Regions from separate parts of the Homo sapiens genome. Here all the other regions are linked to region 4. Evidence: promoter capture Hi-C in human tissues and cell types (Jung and others, 2019). All regions are on one chromosome and are shown on one strand. The core of a region is centred on a gene start or on the middle of the fragment in contact, and the rest is flanking DNA. Distances in the headings are between cores, read along the strand shown. Region 1 holds the start of UQCC1 (ubiquinol-cytochrome c reductase complex assembly factor 1). Region 2 has its middle 52 kb from the start of ASIP. Region 3 holds the start of ERGIC3 (ERGIC and golgi 3). Region 4 holds the start of NCOA6 (nuclear receptor coactivator 6). Region 5 holds the start of RBM39 (RNA binding motif protein 39). Region 6 overlaps UQCC1 (ubiquinol-cytochrome c reductase complex assembly factor 1).

Region 1 (4,436 bases), core at 747-3,246, 590 kb before region 4:
AGCTTGACTTAGCCATTTCACAATGTATACATATTTTAAAACATCCTGGCCGGGGGCACGGTGGCTCACTCTTGTAATCCCAGCACTTTCGGAGGCCGATGTGGGTGGATCACCTGAGGTTAGGAGTTTGAGACCGTCCTAGCCGAAATGGCAAAACCCCGTCTCTACTGAAAACACAAAAATTAGCCAGGCGTGGTGGTGCGCATCTGTAATCCCAGCTACTTGGGAGTCTGAGGCAGGAGAATCGCTTGACTTGGGAGGTGGAGGTTGCAGTGAGCCGAGATTGAGCCACTGCACTCCAGCCTGGGCGACAAGAGTGAAACTCTGTCTCAAAAAAAAAAAAAAAAAGAAAAAAGAAAACATCCTGTTGTACACAATATATATTTTTTGTCAATTAATAAAAATCAATAAATTTAATTAAAAAAATAGTCGAGTGAAGTTATTTCCCATGACTAGCTCCTCTTCTTCCTTTAGATTTCATCTTACATGTCACTTTCTTGGAGAGGCCTTACCAACCTAACCAAAGTAGCTCCCCAGTTTTAATTTTTTTCACTGGGTTCCTATGCCTCCCCCACCAGTCTAAGAACTCCATGAAGCCAGTATGTCTTGTGTTCAGCACATAGGGAAGACTCAATAGGTCTTTGTTGACTGAATGAAATGAAAGAAGTCCTTCAACATCCTGCCCCTCTGCTCCCTCAACCCCCAAAGCACCAGTACTTTGTCTTCTCTTCTCTTGGGATGTAATGGAAGAGGAGTCTTCTACCAAGGCCGTTCTCTGCCACTTTCCTCAAGAAGCTCCTTGCCTCTTTGATTGATTCTCCTGTATACTCTTTTTTTTTTTTTTTTTTTGAGACGGAGTCTCGCTTTGTCACCCAGGCTGGAGTTCAGTGCCCCAGTCTCAGCTCACTGCAACCTCTGCCTCCCGGGTTCAAGCGATTCCCTGCCTCAGCCTCCCAAGTAGCTGGGATTACAGGCACACGCCACCATGCCCGGCTAATTTTTTTCGTATTTTCAGTAGAGACGGGGTTTCACCATATTGGTCAGGCTGGTCTTGAACTCCTGACCTCAGGCAATCCACCTGCCTCGGCCTCCCAAAGTGTTGGGATTACAGGCATGAGCCACCGGGCACGGCCCTGTATACTCTTCACTAATCTTTTCCTATCAATATGCAAAGATGTTTCCCTTAAACAACCAACCAACCACAAATCCCAAAAGTTTCTTCCTCTACCAGGCTTCAGATCGGCACATGACCGCCTTCTTGCCTTGACTTTCAGGAGTCTGGTATCCCCCGTATTCTTTTATCTTAGCCTCCTTCTCTGGCTTTTTTTTTTTTTTTTTTTTTTTTTTTTTTGAGACAGAGTCCAGTCCTGCTCTGTCGCCCAGGCTGGAGTGCAGTGGCGCGATCTCGGCTCACTGCAACCTCTGCCTTCAGAGTAGCTGGGATTACAGGCACACACCAACATGCCCGGCTACTTTCTTTGTATTTTTAGTTAGGGACGGGGTTTTGCCATGTTGGCCAGGCTAGTCTCGAACTCCTGATCTCAGGTGATCCGCCCGCCTCGGCCTCCCAAAGTGCTGGGATTACAGGCGTGAGCCACCGCGCCCGGTCTTCTGGCTCTTTCTAAAGATTGGGATTTCCTAAAGTCCTGTTCTTTTCAACCTCCATTGAAAAGTGTTGGGGTGGAGTTTGGGAAGGAGGGGCTGAGGAGTGAGGCTGGGTTAGGTGGGGAATAAAGAGAGGGATATGAGAAGCCCCGAGGTCTGGGGTCAAGGAGACAGGCGTGGGGGAAGGATTTGAACCACTGTTACGTGTAGTGGGGGAGACAGCAGGGAGAGCGTGCCCGGGCACGACAGCCTGGTGCACAGCCGAGAAAACAACAGCGCGTGCGCGTAGCGACCTCTTTGCGCCTGCGCCCCCCTTGCCAGTCTTTCGCCGGCAAAAGGAGGACGTAGAAAAGGGGACACCGGAAACTCACTCTTCACCCGGAAATGGTTATTGAGGAACATGGCGTTGCTGGTGCGAGTCCTTGTGAGTGAAGGAGTAATTTTCTACGGTAGCTCTCTGGGTCCCGGGTTGGAGTTCGACAAGGCAGGGCGGGAGGAATTGGAAGGAATCGCAGGAGGGAAGCCTGTGTTATAGCTAGGCTGAGTGGCCGCTTTTCCGTGGGGAAACTGAGGCAGCTTCCGACCTCTTCCTACCCCGTTTTGACCTTAGCTCCCCCATCTTTCGAGAAGGGGAAGACTGACATCTGGCCTTTATTTGATGGGGTTTACTTTTCCTTCCCTCCCCCATGTACCTGCTTCCCCTCAGGGAGAGGAGCATGTAGGACACTGATTGGAGTTTCAGGAGGCCTGGGTTCTAGTCCCTGACTGTCACTGATGCATAGTGACTTTAAGCAAGTCACTTTTGGGCCTCATTGACCCTATGTGAAAAACGAGGACATTTATCTCCTGCAGTCCCTTTAGATTCTGAGATTCTCAGGGTTTCTTTCATAGGTAATAAGTCAGTTCTTAACTGTACAGTTAAGTGGAATATAGATTATTAGATTGAAAGCTGCGTGAGAATTGGAGTCATGTCTGTCTCCGTCGTTTTCACTTTGCCTAGCATGGTGTCTGGCACATCATAGGTGTTAAATGATTACTTGTTGAATAAATGAATGAAGTAAGGAAAGACTACCAGACTCTTTAGCACCCGTGTGTGAAACTACTGCACCTCTTGAGATTTAGTCCTGACCCTTCTAGCATACTCTTTTCTCTAGCAATTAAAGGAGAAAAGAAAGTGGCAGCAGAAAAAACGTTAGGATACAGAGCTTAGTTTTTAATCATGGAGGGATGGGAGAGTGTATAGTTTTAGCGAGTCTTCAAAAACTGGGTCAAAGACACTGTTTTTCATAGTAGACATGGTCTATTCCTGTGTCTAGGTAACTTCTGAATTGTTATTTTACATTTGTGTTTTTGATCTTTTTATATATGTCTTACAAGGACGACAGTTTTACTTCTTGTATTCCTTGCCAGCCTAGCAGAGTGAGGTACCCTCGACTGCTGTTCAGTAAATATTTATTTGTAGAGTAGCCCCTGTAACTGCCAGAAAGATTCACCTGGTGAAGTGATTGTTTGATTTCAGGCCAGAAATTGATTCAGAAATGAGGACTGCTGGGGAAATGGCAATTAGAATGTTCTGAATTTAGTGGTTTTTTTTTTTTTTTTTTTTTTAATCCTTCCCCTGCCACCCTTTAGGGTTTTGTTTTTTTTTTTTTTTTTTTTGAGGCAGAGTCTTGCTCTGTCGCCGAAGCTGGAGTGCAGTGGTGCCATCTCGGGCTCACTGCAACTTCTGCTCCCGGGTTCAAGCAATTCTCCTGTGCCAGCCTCCCGAGTAGCTGGGATGACAGGCATGCACCACACCACACCTGACTAATTTTTGTATTTTTTTTTTTTTTGAGATGGAGTCTCGCTCTGTCACCCAGGGTGGAGTTCAGCGGTGTGATCTCGGCTCACTGCAACCTCTGCCTCCTGGGTTCAAGCAGTTCTCCTGCTTCAGCCTCCCAAGTAGCTGGGATTACAGGCGCCTGCCACCACACCTGGCTAACTTTTGTATTTTTAGTAGAGATGGAGTTTCACCATGTTGGCCAGACTGGTCTCGAACTCCTGACCTCATGATCCGCCTCCTGCGGCCTCCCAAAGTGCTGGGATAACAGGCATGAGCCACCGAGCCTGGCCTGACAACTATCATTTTATAGGGCACTTACTACGTGCTAAGCACTTTAAAATACTTACCTAATCCTTATAACATCCCTTTGGAAAGGAGGGCGTGTTATTTCCTCTATTTTACAGATAAGAAAACTGAACCACAGAGAGGTATTCCTGGCCAGGTGCCGTGGCTCACACCTGTAATCCCAGCACATTGGGAGGCTGAGGTAGGTGGATCACTTGAGGCCAGGAGTTCAAGACCAGCCTGGCCAACGTGGTGAAACCCTGTCTCTACTAAAAATACAAAAATTAGCCAGGCCTGGTGGTGGGCGCCTGTAATCCCAGCTACTCGTGAGGCTGAGACACGAGAATTGCTTCAACCCAGGAGGCGGAGGTTGCAGTGAGCTGAGATTGTGCCACTGCAGTCCAGCCTGGGTGAAAGAGTGAAACTCTGTCTGAAAAAAAAAAAGAAGTATTCCTGAAACATTCTTGTTAGTCTTGCTTTATTTTTTCCTCTTTTTGTCTTGTCAGCCAATATTTTCCCTTCTCCAGTGATGGTTTTGGGAAGGAGGAGGAAACTAAAACACTGCTATTGTTGAATGACTACAGCAGAGAGCCTGGACATTTGATCAGTGGAACTGGACATGCTTATGGTTTTTATGAGTTGTCCTGGGCATTGCTGATCATTTCTGCTTTTCTTTGGAAATAGTAAAAATTGCAGAAAGCCACCCTGTACTTTAGAAAATTAA
Region 2 (4,018 bases), core at 1,448-3,947, 640 kb after region 4:
GGAGGGAAGGAAGGGAGGGAAGGAAATAAAGCGAAGAAAGAAATCAACAAGCTTTTGTTTTAAAAAATTAACCCAGTCTTAGAGGCAATAAAACTGTTTTGTCTGAGAGGAGGAAGGATTTGTAGAATTAGAAGAGGGCAGAGGAGAATTTCCTGAGCCTGGCTTTGAGGCATGGTGCTGAGGAGCACTGCAGCCTCCTTTTGTGGCCAGGTCCTGCTCCAGGCCTCCCACAGACCGCTGGGACCAGAGGGCCTTCAATGGGGATGACAGTGTGCTCAGGGAGGTAAGCAAAGGCACTGCTGATCCCGAGCCTCAGCAGAGGTCTTCATGCCATAGAGAAACCTGGAGAAAGGGTCGTAGAATTGTTTTGGGCAAAGAGCGCCAGGGGTGACAGGCACCCTCATCTAAGAGACATCTTCCCCCCAGTATGTGTAAGCTCCTGATAAAGGACCAAGATTGGATTTGCTACTCATTGTTGGATGGAAGCCAAGGGTATTTAATTTAGAAAATTAAAGAAATGTGACATTTCCACCACCTGTATGTCAGGGAACAAAGTAATACCTGTTTAACACCAGGCTCCACACTTTCCTTTAAAGTCTTTTAGGTTTCCTGGCTCAAAGAAGCCTCCAGCTTGATTTGTTGAACTGTGCCTCTCAGGAGCTGAAGGCAGGCAGTGTTCCAGGATATGTGCATATGGGGGTGCATGCTGCTCTGTGAAGGAGCTTTGCACTTGGGCCCCATTCCAGTCCCTCCCTTACCAATTCAATAGGAGCCTGAGTCAATGGTGGACTCAGACAAAGACATTCCCTGAAAAAGAGAGGAAAGGAAGCTGGGCAGAAGTTGCATGCAGGACTGGGATTGCTCAGGATTGGGGCTCCTGAAGCCTTGCTGCGAAACACATCCTCAAGTCTGCACTGCCTCCCGGTGGCCACACCAGAGCTCAGCTCTGCACTTGGTATGGAGAAAAGACTGCATGGGATGTGTGTGTTTCTTCCGGCTGGAGCTCTTTGGAGACTCATCAGAAACCTTGATGAGATACAGAATTCCGAAGGAAGAGGAAGCCTTAGTGAGGAAGGGGGTGAGTTCTGTTTACTCTGAAGTATCTGTGGAATACACTGAAATATAGATATCTAGGAATCTGTCAAAATAAAAATCTAAAGGTCAGGAGAGAGATCTAAACTAGACATGCAGATAGGAGTGTTATTATCATATACGTAGTAATTAAAACCAGGGGAACAGATGAGATCACCCAGGGAAAATGGGAATAGTGACAAGGGCTGAGTTCCAAGGACTACACTCTAGAGTGGGCGGAAAGGTTTGGTGATATCATCTTATGTATTTTTCTGGGGCTTTGGAATTTCTCAACTCATTATCATACTCATTATCTTTCATACTCATTATCTTAATTCTCATCTGGGAGGTTCTATAAAATACCTGGTAAAACGAGGTGTGACTGGGATGATGCCAACACTGCAAGAAATCCAATCTATCGGACAGGCAGGAGGTGGGGCCTGGACACAGTGTCACAAGGGATAGTGATTCCCAATGGTAGGCTTGAAGCCCCAGGTTAGCATCACACGGAATGACTCCTAAGAGCACTTGAAGCTCTTGCCTAGGCTATTGGTGAAGAGCATAGCTGGTCCATGGCGCTGGGTTAGAAAGGCTGTTGCGGGACAGTGGCCAACCTGACAAAAGCTCTGCAGCGGGAGCTTATCTCCAGAAGCAGATGCAGCCTGCCTGCCTCTGCATGTCCTACAGGCAGCAGTCCACCGGACCGAGCTGAGGAATGGTCTTCCCAACTGGGAAGACAGGCATCCTTTCCAGAGACAGAAATATGGCAACCAGAGTACTTGCTCCTTTCTGAGTGACTGGGGTTGGTGGGAGACATGAAGCCTGACCTGGCCCTACAAGGAGGTCTGTAAGGCAGAGGGGTAGAATGCAAGGCAGAGATAAATGCAATGAGGTGACTCCTTTGGTAGAGTCCCCACTTCCTTCAGTTGGTCTCACCTACTCTGAACGTACTTCCTCCCATAGTATTTCAGAGTTTCCCTGTGTTATAATGTGTTATTGTGCACCTATTCACATGCTCCCTTGAGTTCCTCAGGCTGTTCATCCGTGTGGCTTCTCCAGGGTTTGCCTAATACTTAGGGGGAGCAGGGCCAGGTGTGGTGGCTCATGCCTGTAATCCCAGCACTTTGGGTGGCCGAGGTGGGCGGATCACATGAGGTTGGGAGTTTGAGACCAGCCTGACCAACATGGAGAAACCCCGTCTCTACTAAAAATACAAAATTAGCCGGGCGTGGTGGTGCATGCCTATAATCCCAGCTACTCAGGAGGCTGAGGCAGGAGAATCACTTGAACCCGGGAGGTAGAGGTTGCGGTGAGCCGAGATCACGCCACTGCACTCCAGCCTGGGCAACAAGAGCAAAACTCCATCTCAAAAAAAAGAAAACAAACCTTAGGGGGAGCAGTTAAGCTACCCACATGGCCAGAAGTTCTAGGCACCAGACCGTGGCTCTGCTCCTTATTGCTTGAGGTTTTGTTTAACCTCCCTGAACCTCAGTTTTCTCATCTGAAAAATGCCTCACGGTCGTTGTGAGAATTAGAGAATACTCAAAAAGTCTAAATGACAGCACTCGATAGTGTCATTATTGTGACAGTTTCATCTACTACAAATATATTATCCTGTCTTTTTAGAAATTTCTACCATTAAAATGACTCTTTAGGTTAAAGATCTCAGAGCCCTATCATAATGCTTATAGGGAGAAGTATGGTTCTTATTATATTATTGGTCATTATCATGATCCTGAATTGGTTTAGGTAAAGCAGAGGGCAGGAATGGGTCACAAATAGTAATTTTGTTTGGGCTCCGGGTGGGGGAAAGAAGTGTCTCCCAAACTTCAGTCATTTGAATAGCAATGTCAGGATTTCAACCATATCTCCAACCCAGCTATATTATTATTTACTCAATATTTTTCTTTAAATCAACTAATAACTTTTTCAAAGCTTAAATACATTCGTGTAAATTGGAAAATTTATAGCATGTTACTGTCATTTTTCATAAACAGAATATAATCCTAGAAAAAATTAATAATACAATGTCAATAAATTCTAAATAACTACTGTTACCAGGAGAGCACTCCAGTTCTGAGGTCTATTTTCTTGATTAAAAAGGAATATGTTAAAAGGGAATAAGTTTTGGAATATGTTAATGACACATCAACCCCCACTGAGACTTTCTTCTAGATGAATCCAGGCTTGAAAGCAAATTAAAAAGGAAATTACTTTTCCATGATGTGATAATCTTATGCTTGTCCATCTACCGCCTAAAGTCATCTTCTGTTTAACTTAAACCATCTCACATACCACCAGCAGTACATGTTCTAAGCTTTCGGAGACAAAAGGGCTGAAAGCAGGCTAATGAGTTCCCCAAGTAAACTGAAAAAACTAAACTGGCCAACTTCACCTCCTTTACGATTTTGTGTAAATGCTCTACCATCTTGCGTATAATTTCGTTTTTGTATCCCCTTTGGGAACTAGGATAGAATGGCACACATAAATATGCTCAATAAATATCGGGATGCTGGGTATGGGTAAAATGGTAGCAGAACAAGTCGATCTGAATAGGACCCTGGAAGTGCGAGGGGAAGATGGGTTTTCTGAAATACACTCCCTCATTTCCCACAGCCAAACAATTACAGGCTCAGCCTGAAGTCTAAACAAGATGTGGAAATGCCATACACAGCAGAGGAGAATTGGTTCTAAGGACTGAACTATATGAATAATAGTTATTTCTCTCCTTTTGGACTTGGAGATCTGGCTTTTCATAAATAACTATATTTACTCTTGTAATGGTCCTGCCCCATTTTCAAGTGATAGAGTAACTCCAAAGTATCTTTTCCTCTTAAAGGTCATTTATAGTAAGTGATGTGCTTCAGGAGTGTCTTGCACTGAACTGAAAACAAACCATCAAGGAACACTCCTCACCTGCCATATCCAAAAGGCACTCTAGGTTTGT
Region 3 (4,368 bases), core at 12-2,511, 720 kb before region 4:
AAACCACCTGCATTCCAAAGGGGAAGAGCATTAAGGGCTGAATTAAGCCAATGGGCTGGGAAAGCAAACACTCAAAGAAGCCTGGGTCCATCTAGACAGTTCTACCAAGGCAAGAGCACATAAGACCTATCTTCAAACCTCTGGTATTCAAACTACCATCTGCAGGTATTGAGGACCTCTGAGAATAATAGCCAGGTAGATTACCTGACTCGATATGTATAGAGGATTTTAGCTCACTCTGACTCTTACTAGCTGGGGGACCCTAGGCAAGTCACTTGACTTCTCTAGCTCTTAGTTGTTTAATGTATCACTATGCCTGCCACAGTTCACTTGCTAGCAGATAGGCTTGGGTACATCCAGCTTTGGGATCTGAGACCCGGCCCCCTCCCCTGGTTACCATGCCGCTCAGCCTCTGAGCTCACGGGGATGCCATCTTTATCTAGTCGTTGCTTGAACAGGTTGTGTTCCACATCCAGCTGCTGTTCTCCGGCCACATCCATGGCATCAATACTCAGATCTGGAAGCAGGAAAATCAGGCTAAGGTACTGGGACCCTAGGGACAAGGGGATGTGGGTTTTGGAGGGGAAGGGGATACTGGGCCTGTCTTGGGGCAGAACGGGATGAGGAGAAGGAGGTTGTCCTGGGGTCCAGTCCAGAACCTAAGGGTGGAGGTGTGAATCTGGCAGCCCACATGAGAACCCTGGGTCTCTCCAGTCCCACCCATGGTGAGGTACTCACAGGCACAAGGCATGTGCGGAAAAAGTACATCGATGTTGATCTTCAGTTTATCTCCCCGCGACTTGTCCACGTAGAGCTCAGGATGCACCTGGGGCAGCGCTACCTCAGTAAGACTTAGCCCCAAACCTCTCCTTCCCCACTCCCACCCCTAAAGGTCCTACTCCTAGAATGCCAAGCCCCGCCCACGCACTAAGCCCCGCCCCTTACCTCCGTGGTGAGGTAATACTGCAGCTCGGACAGGAACAGTAGCAGCATGAGAAGGCCACTGACAATGGTCACTGCAGGACAAGGGGCGAGGGTCAGAATGGCCTCGAATCCGCTCCCTCAGACACCGGCAGGCCAGTCAGAGTCCAGGAGCCCGGGCTAAGCTCTAGGACGCCCCCCTCCACGCGACCCCGGCCCCGCTGCGGCCTACCGGTGGCGCCCCCGCAGGTCTTGACCCGGAAGTCCTCCAAAGTCTTGGGGTAGGCATCGAACTGCTTCAGCTTCCCCAGCGCCTCCATGGGGACCGGCCGGAAAGGGGACGCCAGCCGGCCCGCCCCTACAGACTCCCTCTTCCGGCCTGGAGCCACGCCCCCCTCTTTTTCCTCACGCAGGCGCAGCAAACCGCACGCTTGGCCCCACCTTTAGCCGCGTTCTCTTACAGGCGGCCCCGCCCAACGATGCTGCCACGCCCCCTTGCGCGGGCAATTGGGTCTGGAAGCTACTGCCCCGGCCTCCGCTGTCCGGGGCGGGATTTTGAGGACTGGGGTGCGAGGAGTTCTCTGCGGGGTTAGAAACGCTAATAGCACCGTTCGTGTGCCTTGTGCTCGGAACTGCACCAGGTGTTTAAGACTCTTGGAACATCTTGGAATATCCTGGAACAGTGGTTTTTCGAGTGTACCGGACCGGCCGCATCATTATCAACTGATTACCTATTAGAAATGCAAATAATTGATTCCCACCTACTGAAGCCGAAACGCTAGGAATGGCATCGGATGATTCTGATGTAAAGTAAGGGTGTCCGCCCTGAAAGCAGGTGTGACTTATCTCCGTTTTCCAAAGAGCAAACTGTGACCTGGAGAAGTTAAATAACTTGCCCAAGATCACAGCCAATTAATAGCAGGACCTGCTTCCAGCCCAGTTCTTCTGGACCTCAAAGTACTCTGGGAATCAGGGTCTTTTGGGTTGATTTTACCTAAACAGCGTCCCAGTGCTTCTCCTGAGCGCTGCTTTCTGAATATTACCCTAAATTGCTCTCCAGGCCCTGGGATCCTCACGGACACGCTCTATCCCTCCAGGTTTAGACTCAAGTGATATGGAGCTTAAGCTCTCCCTGACACTTCCCATTGCAGCCCAGTGTCTCTAGAGGGACAGCTCCCACAGTAATGCAGCTGCAATGAGTAAGATATAAAAGCTCATAGGCTTTCATACAGGAATTCCACTTTAGGAAGTAAAAGCACCATGTCAAGGTTAATAGAAAAATTTTGAAAAAGAAAAAATATGTAAGCAGCTATCCAAGGTTAACAGAAAAAAATTTTAATATAAGGATAAAAGTACCATGATCTGGGTGGTTGTTACACCTTAAGATATTGAATCTGTCTCTTAAAGATTTTAAGTGCACCACATCATAAAGATGTATGCATGAGATTGTTCAATGGCAAAAATCTGGAACCAGCCAGAATGCCCACTGATACATTAAATAAATTGAATAAATCACGATACACCCATTCTATGGAATATTAGGCCACTTTTCAAAAGAATGAGGTAGATTTACTCCTTTAGGTATACTAAGAATGTATTTTTAAGGGGGAAAAGATGCAAAGTAATGTGCATTCCATCATTCCATTTTTTAATTAAAAATTGGGCTGGGCACAATGGCTCACACCTGTAATCACAGCACTTTGGGAGACCGAGGAGGATCACATGAGGCCAGGAGTCTAAGACCAGCCTGGGCAACACAGCAAGACCCCACTCTACAAAAACTTTAAAAACTACATCTGTAACCCTAGCACTTCAGGAGGCCGAGCCAGGAAGCATCACTTGAGTTCAGGAGTTTGAGACCAGCCTGGTCAACATGGTGAAACCCCATCTCTACTAAAAATACAAAAATTAGCCAGGCGTGGTAGTGTGCTCCTGTAAACCCAGCTACTTGTGAGTCCGAGGCAGGAGAATCGCTTGAACCTGGGAGGCGGAGGTTGCAGTGAGCCGAGATCATGCCATTGCATTCCAGCCTGGGCGACAGAGTGAGATTCTGTCTCCAAAAATAAAAATAAAAATAAAAAAATTAGCCAGGTGTGGTGGCATGCGTCTATAGTCTCAGCTACCTGGGAGGCTGGGGTTGAGCCCAGGAGAGTTTGAAACTGCAGTTGTTACCAGGTTACCTGCAGTTGTTACCAGCATAGAGTTGTCCAGGTTCTTGGCGTGTTGAACAAAACACATAAAGTAACAGAAGGGCAACGAAAGACAAACAGCAACAGAAGAACGGAATAACAAAAGCATAGATTTATTGAAGACGATTCATAGCGGCAGCTGGTTAGAGCAAGCTGCTCAAGAGCCTCCTCAATCAGGGTTTGTATTAAGCTAAAGGGACCTGGCAACACCCCTAGGTGCCCTTTAGAAGCCTCCAGTTGGCTACACCTATGAAGGATTGGCCTGCGACCAAATCAGAGGCTGAAGTGGAGACTTGGCCCACAGCCAATCAGAGGCTGAAGTGGAGATTTGGCCCCACGGTCAATCGGAGGCGGAAGTGGAAACTTCTGTCTCGTTATCATAGGATTGAAGATGTGGCCTGTATGCTGCCTAGAACTGGCTGCACCCCTTCATTTGCTTATGTCTTAACCCCCGGTTACCCTGATTCCCTGTTCTCCTGCCTCATAGTGAGCTGTGATTACACCACTGCACTACAGCCTGGGCGACAGAGCGAGTCTCTCTCTCTCTCTTTGTGTGTGTGCATATATATATATATAATATATATAAACTGTTATATATATTATATATATAAACTTATATATATTATATATATAAACTGTTATATATTTTATATATATAAACTGTTATATATATTATATATATAAACTGTTATATATATTATATATATAAACTGTTATATATATTATATATATAAACTGTTATATATATTATATATAAACATATATATAAACTTATATATATTATATATAAACTTATATATATTATATATATAAACTGTTATATATAAACTTATATATATTATATATAAACTGTTATATATAAACTGTTATATATAATATATAAACTTATATATTATATATATAAACTGTTATATATATTATATATATAAACTGTTATATATATTATATATATAAACTGTTATATATATATATATAAACTGTTATATATATTATATATATAAACTGTTATATATATATATAAACTGTTATATATATTATATATGTAGTTATATATAAATTGTTATATATGTAAAACATAGGCCGGGCGCTGTGGCTCACGCCTGTAATCCCAGCACTTTGGGAGGCCGAGGCGGGCGGATCACGAGGTCAGGAGATCAAGACCATCCTGGCTAACATGGTGAAACCCTGTCTCTACTAAAAATACAAAAAATTAGCCGGGCGTAGTAGCGGGCGCCTGTAGTCCCAGCTACTCGGGAGG
Region 4 (4,250 bases), core at 701-3,200:
TCAGTGTATGGAAGAGATCTGCACTCTCATGTTTACTGCATCCCTGTTCACAACAGCCAAGATTTGGAAGCAACCTAAGTGTCCATCAACAGATGAATGGATAAATAAAATGTACATATACACAATGGAATACTATTCCGCCATTAAAAAAGAGTGAGATCGTGTCATTTGCAACAATATGGATGGAACTGGAGGTCATTATGTTATGTGAAAGAAGCCGGGCACAGAAAGACAAACTTCACATGTTCTCACTTATTTGTGGGAGCAAAAAATTAACTATTTTTTATTTTTTTTTGAGACGGAGTCTCACTCAGCCACCTAGGCTGGAGTGCAGTGGCGCGAGCTAGGCTCACCGCAACCACCATCTCCCAGGTTCAAGAGATTCTCCCGTCTCAGCCTCCTGAGTAGCTGGGATTACAGGCACCCGCCATCATGCCCACCTAGCTTTTGTATTTTAGTAGAGACAGGGTTTCACCATGTTGGCCAGGCTGGTCTTGAACTCCTGACCTCAGGTGATCCGCCCATCTTGGCCTCCCAAAGTGCTAGGATTACAGGCGTGAGCCACCATGCCGGGCCAGGAGCGAAAAATTAAAACAATTGAACTCATGGAGATAGAGAATAGAAGGAGGGTTACCAGAGGCTGGTAAGATTAATGGGGAGGTAGGTGGGAAGTGGGAATGATTAACGGGTACAAAAGAATAGTTAGAAAGAATAAGACCTAGTATTTGCTAGCACAAGAAGGTGACTACAGTAAAAAACAATTGGCCGGGCGCGGTGGCTCACGCCTATAATCCCAGCACTTTGAGGGGCAGAGGCGGGCGGATCATGAGGTCAGGAGTTCCTGACCAGCCCGGCCAATATGGTGAAACCCCATCTCTACTTAAAAAATATACAAAAATTAGCTGGGCGTGGTGGCATGCGCCTGTAGTACCAGCTACTCAGGAGGCTGAGGCAGGCGAATCCCTTGAACCAGGGAGGCGGAAGTTGCAGTGAGCTGAGATCGCGCCACTGCACTCCAGCCTGGGCGACGGAGTGAGACTCCGTCTCAAAAAAACAAAAATAAAACAAAAAACAAAAAAAAAACCACACACACACAAAATTTACTTGTACATTTTAAAATAACTAGAGTATAATTGGGTTATTTGTAACACAAAGGATAAATGCTTGAGTTGCTAGATACCCCATTTACCATGATGTGATTACACATCGCATGCCTGTATCAAAATCTCATGTACCCCATAAATATATTCACCTACTACGTACTTACGAAAATTTAAAAAATACATCAGTGTAGTGTGGGAAAAAACAGAAAATTTTTAAAAAAGAGTGAAAGCCAGATATGAATCCAGGCCTGTATGACAGACATGAAGTCCAGTGCTGAGGAGGCCTTTCTACGTTTGGGAAGAGGGGAGGGGCCACACTCGTTCGATCAATAATTCTATTTACTGAGCATTTTAGCTTGCTAGGGAGGTAATGATGGGAAAAAGAAGAGAGGGATTTAGAGGCAAATAATAATGAAAGCTTTTATCTATATCCCATTAAGCTTATTATTAGACAGTATGTGTCAGGCACGGTGACAAGTGCTTTCCAAGCCCACCTCCATTTGCTCTTCACAAGCACTATGATTTTCCCCATATTTCAGATGGGTAAACTGAGGCTTGGAGTTGCCATGTCCAAGGATACTCAGAGCGCTCGCAAAAGACTGTGCAATGTGTGCTTCCGAAGTGGGACTCACTGGCGAGAGAATAGCCCTGGAAAGCCGACAGAGACCCACGAGATCCCAGCACTAAGCACTCAGCACCGAAGGGAGCTGGCGCGCGCTCCACCTCGCGCTCCCGGGGACGTCTGGTCACGTGGGCAATGCCCCGCCCCTCGAGTCCGCCCCGCCCCCTCTCGCGCTCCCTCCCTCTCTCCCTCCCTCCCCCTCCCTCCCCGGCCCGGTCCGGCCCATCCCCCTCCCCGCCGGCTCCGTGAGGCCCTGCCGGGTCGGGCTGCGGGCGGCCGGGCGCGGGCGGCGGGACAGACGGGCGCACGCGAGGACTGACGGACGGACGCACCGAGGGCGGCGGGCACGCACGGCCCGGGCCGGCGCTCCAAGGCCCGCCCGGGAGGGCCGGGGCCGCGCTCAGGTGAGGGGACGGCGGCGCGGGCCCGTAAGGGGTGGGCCCGCCGGGCGTCCGCGGTCCTTGTCGGGCTGGCTTCGCGGGGAGGAGGCGCCGCCCGGGCCCGCGCGGAAAAATGGCGCCGGGCGACCGAGTGGCACGGTCTGAGAGCGGGCCCGGCCCGGAGCCGCCCCGCCCGCCGCGCTTGTGTCCCCGTCGCCATGTTGGGGAGCGGGCCCCAGGCCTGCGGGCGGGGGCGCTGGAGGGAGCGGCGGCCGGGCTGGGTGGGGAGGGTGCTGGGCGCGGGGGCCGGTGCACTGAGGGAGTGCAGGGCTGGCCGGGGTCTGCACGGGGTGGCGCTCCAGGCCTGGGGAACAGGCGGGAGCCGGTCGTGGGGTCGTGGTCAGGGTCGCGGAGAAGGAACACTGGGTCCGAAGGGAACCGGGATTGGGGTCTATGGGCTGAGAGGATGGCAGGACGTGGAACTGGGTTAGGCCTTAGGCGGTGTTAGAGCCCTAATGCAGGTAGGACCTGGGGATTGGGGTGGAGGCATGGGGGCCAAGCTCAGGCTGTCAGGGCTGGAGCAGTTCTTTGCTGGGAGGGAAGGAGGTGATTGATGAGGAATGAGGGCCCTTTGGGTACAGACGCTGGTTCAGATTGGGGCAGTCCTTGGGGTACTGGGGCTGAATTGCAAAGCTGTATAACTCCCAAGGCTCTGAAGACTTATGTCCCAAGCATCCTCCACCCCCTCTTGGGGGAAGCAACAGGAAAAAGGAGGTGTTTGATGAGAGAAAAGGGGGACAAAGGGAGACTGAGGTTTGGGTGCAGGAGCTGGCCAGCAAAAGAGGCACAGAGAGTGGAACTGGTTGGCAAGGAAGGAGAGAACCTTTATCAACTTAGGGAGTTGTGTGTGTCTTTAAAAGGAGGGACCTGGCTGTTTGGGGGCGGTGACCCAAGGTGTCTTCCCTGGAAGGGGACAGCCCACAGCTTAAGAGCAGAGTCACCTGGAGAGGTCATCAGAAAGGCGTTATTGAAGCCAGTAAAATGGTGAAGAAGAGTGAATGTATAAAAACTACAAAGGCCTGAGAGATCAAGTAAAGATTTCAAATCAGGTAGTGATTTTAGCTGAAACATAGAAAGGTAAAGTTGACTTTTCAAGATCTTACAAGTTAGTGGCAGAGGGGTACTAGAAATTGTCGGCTGCTTCCTCACTAAACACATTGCCTTAAAGGAATTTGCTAGCTGGGAGAAAGGTGTTAAGAAATGAAGCATAACATTCTTGTGATGAAACTAAAAGCAAACAAACAAAAACAACAAGAAATGAAGCATAACAGTATATACCAGATAACTATTAAATTTGTTTTCTTCCTGTAATGAGTGTGGCAATACAAAGGCTGAAGGGAATACAAAAAAGTATAGGCAGCCAGTTATTTGGTATTTCCTGGTTCATCTCTAATTGTGCAAAGAAGTTATCTTTGAGACCTTCTAACTTTCTAGAGTTTTAAGAGGTGCTCCGGCCAGCCACAGTGGCTCACGCCTGTAATCCCAACACTTTGGGAGGCCAAGGTGGGAGGATTTCTTGAGCCCAGGAGCTGGCAGACCCCATCTCTACAAAAGAAATAAAAAAAATTAGCCACCTGATGTGGCTTGTACTTGTAGTCCCAGCTACTCAGGAGGCTGAGGTGGGAGGATCGCTTGAGCCTGGGAGGTCAAGGCTGCAATGAGCCATGCTATGGTCATTCCATGACATTCCTGCCTGGGCGACAGAGCAAGACACTGTCTAAAGAAAAAAAAAAAAGAGAGATGCTCCTTCTCTTCTAGGTGTTTACCACAAAGGAACACAAAATCCTAAAAAAGAAAAGTGAAAAATTGTAGACACCCAGAGTCTCTATTTTATTAATTGAAGTTGGATCATGTTAGAGAAGAATTCAAAGTTCGCATGGGCTATGGGAGAGTTCTGAAGGAAATATGCAAATTAGTCATGGAAAATAGGTCCAGGGCCCCATATAATCAAAGAGAATTAGCGAACAAAAATATTATGCGGGCATATATAAAATAAAACTGTCAATACCATATGTATATACAGCAACACAATTCATTTGTTCTGGGTTTTTCTTTTCTTTTCTTTTCTTTTTTTTCTGTTTGTAG
Region 5 (4,359 bases), core at 161-2,660, 920 kb before region 4:
TTAACCTGAGAGGCAAAACCACTTAACATCTATATTTGCTCTAAATAATTTTGTTTAGCAGAAACAGAAGTTAGCTGTTTTGAAGATCAAATATTTACCAGGCGTTTTACAGACATTATATCATTTAATCTTCACTATAGCCCTTCTGAGCCTTCATTCATTAATTTACTGAGGGTCCACTTGGGCAGACATGCCCTGCTAACCTCTAAAAATTCAGTACTGAGCATTACCTGCCTTCCTCAGTCTCAAGTAGCTTAGACTAGCTACTAAGTACGTCCTCTTTTAAATCAGGAAATGAAAGATCCCCTCTGAGAGGTTAATTTGCTTGTCCAAGGTCACACAGTGTTGCAGCAGCTAGTTACACTAATCAAGGCGTCTCATTTCCAATCTTTTCTGCCCTCAATCATTAGACTGTTAAGATTAGAGGGTAAGATTTTTGCTTTGAAGACTTCTTTCCAGTTTTTTTTCCCAGCATCTAGGAGGAAACCTCACACAGTACTGACCAAAGAACAAATGGCTAATTCATACTCTAATTACCTGGCATCTAGAAGACTTCAGGGGAGAGGAGCCAGGTCCCAGGGGGAAGGGGGCCTTTTTTTTTTTGTTGGGGGGGTGTCTTATTTTTTCACCAAATCGTCCAGTAATATTCAGGAAGGGGAACATTTTTGAAGGAACGGTAGCAACCCTGACACAAGAGCTGATTAAATTCGGGGCACAAAACTGATCCCATGCCAAGGGAAGCAAGAGTTTATTTTTTCCACCTTTTTTTTGCTTTTCTCCACTATTTCCAAGGTTGTTTCAAAGCTCGACAGTGGAGGCCGCGCCATTGGCTCCAAATGACAGGGAAATCTATTTTTATTATCTCCCCCTCTCCCCCTACCCCTAAAGATCTCTTCTTCTGGCCTTCTGATACACTTTTCCACTTCCTCTCCACCCTCAGCGGATAATCTGAATATGGCCGTTTTATCCTATCGCCATAAGGACTAGGTTGCCTTATGGCGACCTTGACAGCCATCTGTGTGGGAGGCCGGAGCGGGGGCGATCGGCTGTGCCGGAGGAATCTTCAGATGGCCGTGAGGAGGCGCCACGAGGGGGAGGTGACCGCTGAGCTCCACTCAGCGAAGAGCTCTCTGAAAGATTGACAGGCAGCCTACCAACTGTCTTTGCCCTAGAGACCCGCTCTGTCTCGCGAGATTTGGGTGCTTACGCGGAGGGGGAGTGAAAGGCGCCTCACTGAATGGGGGATGGGAATATCTGTGGCGCAATCATTGCGCGAGATTGGGCTACGGTCGCCGGAGCCATACTTAGGTCTCGCGATACTTCGGCCGCTCAAATTTGGAGCTTGGGGCAGCTTCTCGCGAGAGCCCGTGCTGAGGGCTCTGTGAGGCCCCGTGTGTTTGTGTGTGTGTATGTGTGCTGGTGAATGTGAGTACAGGGAAGCAGCGGCCGCCATTTCAGGGAGCTTGTCGACGCTGTCGCAGGGGTGGATCCTGAGCTGCCGAAGCCGCCGTCCTGCTCTCCCGCGTGGGCTTCTCTAATTCCATTGTTTTTTTTAGATTCTCTCGGGCCTAGCCGTCCTTGGAACCCGATATTCGGGCTGGGCGGTTCCGCGGCCTGGGCCTAGGGGCTTAACAGTAGCAACAGAAGCGGCGGCGGCGGCAGCAGCAGCAGCAGCAGCAGCAATCTCTTCCCGAACACGAGCACCACAGGCGCCCGAAGGCCGGAACAGGTACGGGGCGTTGCGGACCCGCGTATTATCTCAGCTTTCTCGAGGTTTGGCTCCATTTTGGGCTGAGGGGCGCTTTTGGAGGTCTTTAGCGACCGGGGTGGGGGGTGGTTTTCGAGAAATCGGCCCTGTTTCAGTGACCGCGCCCTTATTTTCCAGTCGGGTATAGTCTGGATTCTTGGGGCGGTAGGGACCCCCGAGAGGCCGCGGTAGAATGGTGACCTGTCTCCTTCGAGGCCTGGGCCGGCCGCGACCTCCCAACATGGCGCCAGTTGAACGCTGCCTTGGCTCATAACCCCTCCCAATGGAGGGAGTTTCTCTTTGCCCCTAAAATGGCAGCGCGGGTTTTTGCCCGGAAAGAGGCGCTCTCGTTCGGGTCTCCCAGTTTCTGTTTTTGGAGTTGACAGCAGAGTTTTAAATATTGGATATTGAAGTCTTCATTTTCGTGTGTTTCGTGTAAGAGGCGTTTTGGATTTACTTACGTAAGCCAAACCTGGTTAAAGTGCATGTCACTTTAGTCATTAATTGTAGGGCTTTTGGAGGTTTTTCTTAAGTTTTCGAGTGTGTCGGCTGAGAAGAAAAATTCAGTCGATTTGAAAAACGTTTACCAGGCCGGGCGCGGTGGCTCACGCCTGTAATCCCAGCAGTTTGGGAGGCAGAGGCAGGCGGATCACTTGAGGTTAGGAGTTCGAGACCAACCTCATCAACATGGTGAAACCCCGTCTCTACCAAAAATACAAAAATTAGCCGGGCGTGGTGGCAGGCGCCTGTGATCCCAGCTATTCGGGAGGTGAGGTGGTAGGATCGCTGGAACCTGGGAGGCGGAGCTTGCAGTGAGCCGAGATCGCGCTACTGCACTTCAGCCTGGGCAACTAGAGCGAAACTCCGTCTCAAAAAAAAAAAAAAAAAAAAAGAAAAATGTTTACTCACGGAATCGTCTTGTTCTTTTCCTAGGCGTTTAGAGAAAATGTTAGACGATATAGGCAACAAGAGTGAAACTTGTTTCACATTGTAAGAGAAATGTTTACTCAAGAAATTGTCTTGTTCTCTTCCTAGGCGTTTAGAGAAAATGGCAGACGATATTGATATTGAAGCAATGCTTGAGGCTCCTTACAAGAAGGTGAGAAAAAACATGTCGGTGAGGTTTATATATTTCTTAATTTAGCATTATTCACGAAACTACTGCTGAAATGTAAACTAACCTCCCCGGAGCCCTCTTGATTTATCTTATCAGAGATGCATTACGTGTAACTTACAAAAGTAAATATATGCTATTGATGTAATAATATTGTGCAGTAGTTTCACTTCAGCGTGATGAATAAATGCCCATCTATCTCTCTTTGTAGACTTGCCTAACGATATCTCACCTCTACTCCCATGAATTCACCTTTGATTCCAGTGTGAACTGTCAATCATAAGGTAGTAATTGAGTGACTTATCGCTGTACCGTGGTCCCCTAGGTAAAATGACTCAACTAAGAATTACCACCTCCAGTTTGGTATAGCAAAAAGGTGAATGTAGTGGTTTGGGAAAAAGCAGGGGTCCAAGAATAACAAAGCATGACCAGTCTGTGGCAAGTTAAATCTTCTAACAGTCTTATAAGAAGAAATGGGTGAGATTTTAAAATTTATGTATCTATGTAAGACTGGTGATAGTAAATCTTAAAACAGTCCAGTGGCAATCTGCTGCTCAGTTAATAATTACTAAAATTCTTGGATCCCTGAATAGAAATTAAAAAAAAAAAATACAAGAGGCAGTAGAGTCAATACAAGCTTAATACAAGCTTAGAGTAAATACAAGCTTAGAGTCACTTGATGACTGTTTTACTGTTCTCCATATTGTTTTTATTTTTAATTAGGCCCTACCATAGTATTTCACACTAAAAACAAAGGAATTATATTGGCTAATATAGTCTTTGACTCATTTCGGTATCTCAGTAAAAGTAAACTGTCTTTTCATTGTTTCACCAGTTGGTGGTGAAAATAGCAGTATGCATGCATTATCACTGGTGTCACAAACTGTAAGCTTTGTAAGTTAGCACTTTACTCCTATAGCTGATGTAATCAAACTTTAAAATAAACATTTCACTAAACCTTTTAAAAATAATACATTTGTTTTGGATTGTATAGCACGACCATGTGGTACCAATTTGGATGAATTCTTGATAGATTTAAATAGTGTATGTAATTTTGTAATGCTTAGACTCTTGAAGAGCTACTTTCTGTTTTAATGTTAAGATTCTTGTGTCTTAGTTTTTTTTAACATGGATGTAATTCCATGTAAACAGGTATGGAAGTAGGAAATGTTTAGGCTGGACTTGGTGGATTATTAATTGACTTTCTTGGGTTCTTGGGAGTCAACATTACTAAAGCAGTGTGAATCCCTGTTTGCTTCAGGGCGAGATGTGTGACAGAGGTGGCATCAAGCTCTTACAGTCCCAACCCTCCAACGGAAATGGGCGAAGATCTCAGGAATGGCATCGGTCACAGGAAATCGATAGTGGCTGGCTGCTAGCATGGCCACTTGGGGCTTAGGCAGAAATAGAGCCATGGTACTGACCAAAGGGACCATAGCACATGGAATAAAACTCAAAACAGGACTTCATGTTTTATGGAAATTATATTTAACCACTT
Region 6 (4,123 bases), core at 904-3,403, 550 kb before region 4:
AGGTTGAGCATCCCAAATTGGAAAATTGGAAATTCAAAATCTAAAACGTTTGGAGTTTTTAGACATGATGCCCCAGGGAAATGCTCACTGGAGCATTTTGGATTTTTGGATTTGGGATGCTCAGCTGGTAAGTATAATGCAAAGCATCCAAAATCCCCCCAAATCCAAAATTCAAAACACTGCTGTTTCCACACGTTTCAGATAAGGAATACTCAACCTGTAATACCATTTCTCTCTTTCACTATGGCAGAAGTGCCTTTTAATGCCTTTCAGGGTTGCTGGAATATTGGGTAAGCCTAATCAGTCATAAGTCAAAGCAAGCCCACTCAAAGCAGTAGGGAAGATTTTTCTAGAAAATATATAAGCTTTACTGAGAACAACCAAGTAATGCCACTTACACCATTTTAACAAGTTGGATTCAAATTAGAATTTCAATTTTATTATAGACTTCTACTTGTGGTTTCTTCTTATGGTGTCTGGTTCTCTTTCTAACAATTCTCACTACAGCAAATATGAGCTTCTCTCTATAATTACTCTTTTACCTGAATTCTGAAAAGTGAACAGTAATTCCACAAGCATTTTGTTTTTAAGGAGCTTTGAAAAAATATAGAAAGAACACAAATACTGACAATGATGTTCTTGAGTCCCTAAGGTTATGAAGTATCTTCTTAATTGCCAATGAAATATTAGTTATGTTCTTTAAAGTTGTATTTTTTAATATCTTAATTTTTGACACTTGATAATTGTTGATATACTTGGTAATGTTTTTAACCAGAATCTTTTCCCCTATTAAAAAAATGTTATGCTTATGGCATTTGGATTTACAAACTTAAAGTATATGTTTTGTTTGAAAATTAGAAATTAAGAGGGAAGTCAAAACAAAAAAAAGAAAAGAAACATTTACAGTTTTATTCATTTCTTGGTGATTGGGTTCCACTTGGTTGCTACCATATGTTTTGTCTAGGCTGTTTTTTAATGATTCTAGAGAGAAAATTGGCTATCATTTGGAGGATTACTAAATCATCAGGAAAATTCCTTTGCTCTTTTAGCCTAAGTTAGCCTCTGATTTTTCTTGGTTCCCTTGTGACATCAACTAAATCCCTAATGTTTGCATTTTAAAACTCTTGTGATGTGATGGTGTGTACTTTCTATAACCTTCATTTTATTTTATTTAATTTTAATTTTATTTTTTTGAGACAGAGTCTCACTCTGTCACCCAGGCTGGAGTACAGTAGCGTGATCTCAGCCTACTGTAACCTCCGCCTCCCAGGTTCAAGCAATTTTCCTGCCTCAGCCTCCTAAGTAGCTGGGACTACAGGCGCATGCCACCACACCTGGCTGACTTTTGTATTTTTAGTAGAGATGGGGTTTCACCATGTTGGGCCAGCCTGGTCTCCAACTCCTGACCTCAAGTGATTCCGCCTGCCTTGGCCTCCCAAAGTGCTGGGATTATAGGATTGAGCCACTGCGCCCAGCCTATAACCTTCATTTTAAAATTTGTTACATCACAATATCAACGTATGACATTCTAGTGTAATTGAGATGTGAAAATGTATGTGTAACTTTTCATTTTGAAAAACAGAACCGTTTTCAGCAATGTTGACTCAAATCAATGCACTTGTATTGGATTGCACTGGCAAAATTATTTGTTTTGTGTTTTCACATGTATTTGATTAGGGAGTAAAATACCTGCATGTCTGTCCACATCAGCAGTATCAGCTATCTTTTCTCTATCTTTTTCTTTAGGTTTCATGTGTTATTCCCATGTTTGATAATCATGTTTAGGATCTTAAATGTAGCTTTCCCTTACCTATTTGAGTATCTTGGAATCATCATTTTAAAAAATTACCTTTATATGCAGTATCAGGTGAGATAAGCACAATATTTACCCAACTCAGCCACATGCCATAGAATAGGTTTCCATATTAGCATTAAGCCAAAAAGTTATTCCTATTCTGAAGGACACTGACAAACTGGAATGTATTCAGAGGTAGGCAGTGAGCCTTATGAACATTTCAGAAACTGTTAAGAACGGTTGAAGGAAATAGGGATGCTTAGCCTGGAAAAGAGAAGACAGGATGATTCTTCTCAGGTATTTGAGGGGCAAATGTGAAAAAAAGAAGGTATTCCAGTGGGCAGAATAATGTTCAATGAATGTTATATGAAGCAGATTTTAAGTTTAGCAAAATAAGAATCTAACAAGAATTGTCCTCAGGTGGGACAGGTAGCCTTACAAGGTCATTGGTCTTGTTTGAACAGAGGCCCAGATGGTTGACTGTGAATCAAGAATGCTGTAGAAGGATTTCCAGTAGACAATAGAAGGTTCAAATTACTTAAAACACCCTTCTAACTCTTTTTTATCTTTTTTTGAGTTGGAGTCTCGCTCTGTCGCCCAGGCTGGAGTGCAGTGGCGCGATCTCGGCTCACTGCAACCTCTGCCTCCCAAGTTCAAGCAATTCTCCTGCCTCAGCCTCCCGAGTAGCTGGGATTACAGGTGCCTGCCACCACGCCCAGCTAATTTTTGTATTTTTAGTAGAGATGAGGTTTCATCATACTGGCCACCCTGGTCTCTTGGCCAGGCTGGTCTCAGAACTCCTGACCTCATGATCCGCCCACCTCGGCCTCTCAAAGTGCTGGGATTACAGGCATGAGCCACCTTGCCAGGCCCTTTCAAACTCTTACATAGCTGTTAATGCAAGCATTTTACTAGATTTGTTTTTCATCCTGTAGGATGTTAAAAAATGCATTAGTTCGTGGGAGAGCAGATTTTCATTTCCTAAAGCTGTTCAAGGTGCCTCTCTTTTACTCAAGTAAAAGATGACTGATGAAGTCTTCTAAAATTAAAATGAAATAAATATGAAGTCATCCAAGGACCAGAACAACTTGTATTGACTGGTTGAAAATTCAGTCCCCCTACGTCCTTAACTCAGATCAGTGCATGATTCTTGATGAGGTTCTTTCCTCAAGTTATTATTTCCAGTCTCTGTGTGATAGTCTTTAGAGACTTGTTTTAGAGATTTGTCCAGGAAAATGGCTCACCCAAGTATAAAGGCTTGGCCTTGCAGCAGGAAAAGTGAAGAACTATAAAATGCTCCTGATTGCCATAGCATGAGCACTGAAAACATACTCTGGCCAATCTGGTGAAGTCTTCATTGTTTGTGATGAATGCTTTTTCACAAACGTGTTGTTGGGGAAGCTTCCTTCTCAAGGAAAGACTTGGGCCTTGGGCCTTGAAGGCAAGTCTCCAGGCAAGGTGATTAATTATGAACCCAGGACTTTATATATAGGAATCTGAAGGAGATTACAAGATTTAAAAAAATCAAGAAATAGATGATTAGAAATTTTAGTTAAAGTTACATACTTGTCTGTAGCTGAACTGGGCCGTAAGCTCCATGAGAGTAGAGATTTTTGTCTGTTTTGCCCACTGCTCTATTCTCATCATCCAGATCAGTGCCAGGCACTGAGTTATGTACTCAGTGAATTATTGGATGAAGTGAGGAGCTAGGGCAGATGTCCTGAACTCCCTGTCTTAAGGATAGGAGTAGGCCTGTCAAGGCCAAATTATTAGGATCATGATATTATTAGATTATCATTAGTTTGGTAATGGCACAGACCAGTGCTTCCCAAGATGTGTTCTGTGGTCAGATACTTCCTAGAACTGCAAGTGTTAACAAAATTAAACAGGCTTTTTTTGGTCTGTTGATATGGTGAAACTGATTGATTTGTCAGTGTTGAATTATCTTTGCATTCCTGGGATAAATTTCACTTGATTATGATATACTATCCTTTTAAAAATATTGATGGATTTAATTTTAAAATATTTTCTTAAGGAATTTTGCATCAATGATCTATGTTCATGAAGGCTATTGTTCTGTAGTTTTGTTTTCTCCTAATGACTTTGATTTTGATATCAGGATAAGGTTGGCCTTATTGAATGAGCTGGGAAATATCCTTTCTTCTTGTTTTCTGGCAGAGTTTGTGTAGATTTCGTAACATTTCCTTTTTTCCTTTTCTTTTTCTTTTTTTTTTTGTTTTGTTTTGTTTTGTTTTGAGATGGAGTCTCACTCTGTCGCCAGGCTGGAGTGCAGTGGCGCACTCAGCTCACTGCAACCTCTGCCTCCTG

What was found. Contacts are between HindIII fragments. The study calls those that stand out against the background at their distance.
Region 1: the fragment with the promoter of UQCC1 here is called in contact with the fragment with the promoter of NCOA6 in region 4 in 5 of the 25 tissues and cell types used here (heart left ventricle, heart right ventricle, hippocampus and 2 more).
Region 2: a fragment that was not itself captured here is called in contact with the fragment with the promoter of NCOA6 in region 4 in 2 of the 25 tissues and cell types used here (IMR-90 fibroblasts and lymphoblastoid cells).
Region 3: a contact is called between the fragment with the promoter of ERGIC3 here and the fragment with the promoter of NCOA6 in region 4, in 1 of the 25 tissues and cell types used here (bladder).
Region 5: a contact is called between the fragment with the promoter of RBM39 here and the fragment with the promoter of NCOA6 in region 4, in 2 of the 25 tissues and cell types used here (dorsolateral prefrontal cortex and hippocampus).
Region 6: a contact is called between a fragment that was not itself captured here and the fragment with the promoter of NCOA6 in region 4, in 1 of the 25 tissues and cell types used here (lymphoblastoid cells).

Annotation. Positions count from the first base shown.
Region 1 is chr20:35,409,533-35,413,968 of GRCh38, reverse strand. UQCC1 (ubiquinol-cytochrome c reductase complex assembly factor 1) reads left to right here and starts at 1,996. Exons shown (of 10, transcript NM_018244.5): 1 at 1,996-2,029. The coding sequence starts at 2,006. RefSeq lists enhancers at 1,761-1,810, 1,018-1,840, 1,941-2,090, 2,151-2,250, 1,841-2,664. The HindIII fragment of the contact is 20,339 bases long and covers 1-4,436 here.
Region 2 is chr20:34,187,681-34,191,698 of GRCh38, reverse strand. It overlaps a transcript of ASIP not described here. Among named protein-coding and RNA genes, the nearest start is that of ASIP, 52 kb to the left of the region's middle. The HindIII fragment of the contact is 6,445 bases long and covers 1-4,018 here.
Region 3 is chr20:35,538,971-35,543,338 of GRCh38, reverse strand. It overlaps ERGIC3 (ERGIC and golgi 3), which reads right to left and starts at 1,261. Exons shown (of 13, transcript NM_015966.3): 1 at 1,154-1,261; 2 at 946-1,016; 3 at 739-826; 4 at 398-517. The coding sequence starts at 1,241. RefSeq lists an enhancer at 1,500-1,589. The HindIII fragment of the contact is 35,337 bases long and covers 1-4,368 here.
Region 4 is chr20:34,823,351-34,827,600 of GRCh38, reverse strand. It overlaps NCOA6 (nuclear receptor coactivator 6), which reads left to right and starts at 1,950. Exons shown (of 15, transcript NM_014071.5): 1 at 1,950-2,129. RefSeq lists silencers at 1,844-2,033, 2,044-2,483. The HindIII fragment of the contact is 14,831 bases long and covers 1-4,250 here.
Region 5 is chr20:35,739,311-35,743,669 of GRCh38, reverse strand. RBM39 (RNA binding motif protein 39) reads left to right here and starts at 1,410. Exons shown (of 17, transcript NM_184234.3): 1 at 1,410-1,729; 2 at 2,783-2,846. The coding sequence starts at 2,796. RefSeq lists enhancers at 971-1,070, 1,241-1,460, 822-1,507, 1,521-1,670 and a silencer at 1,931-2,030. The HindIII fragment of the contact is 31,582 bases long and covers 1-4,279 here.
Region 6 is chr20:35,376,876-35,380,998 of GRCh38, reverse strand. All of the region lies in intron 4 of UQCC1 (ubiquinol-cytochrome c reductase complex assembly factor 1), which reads left to right. Among named protein-coding and RNA genes, the nearest start is that of UQCC1, 33 kb to the left of the region's middle. The HindIII fragment of the contact is 4,785 bases long and covers 1-4,123 here.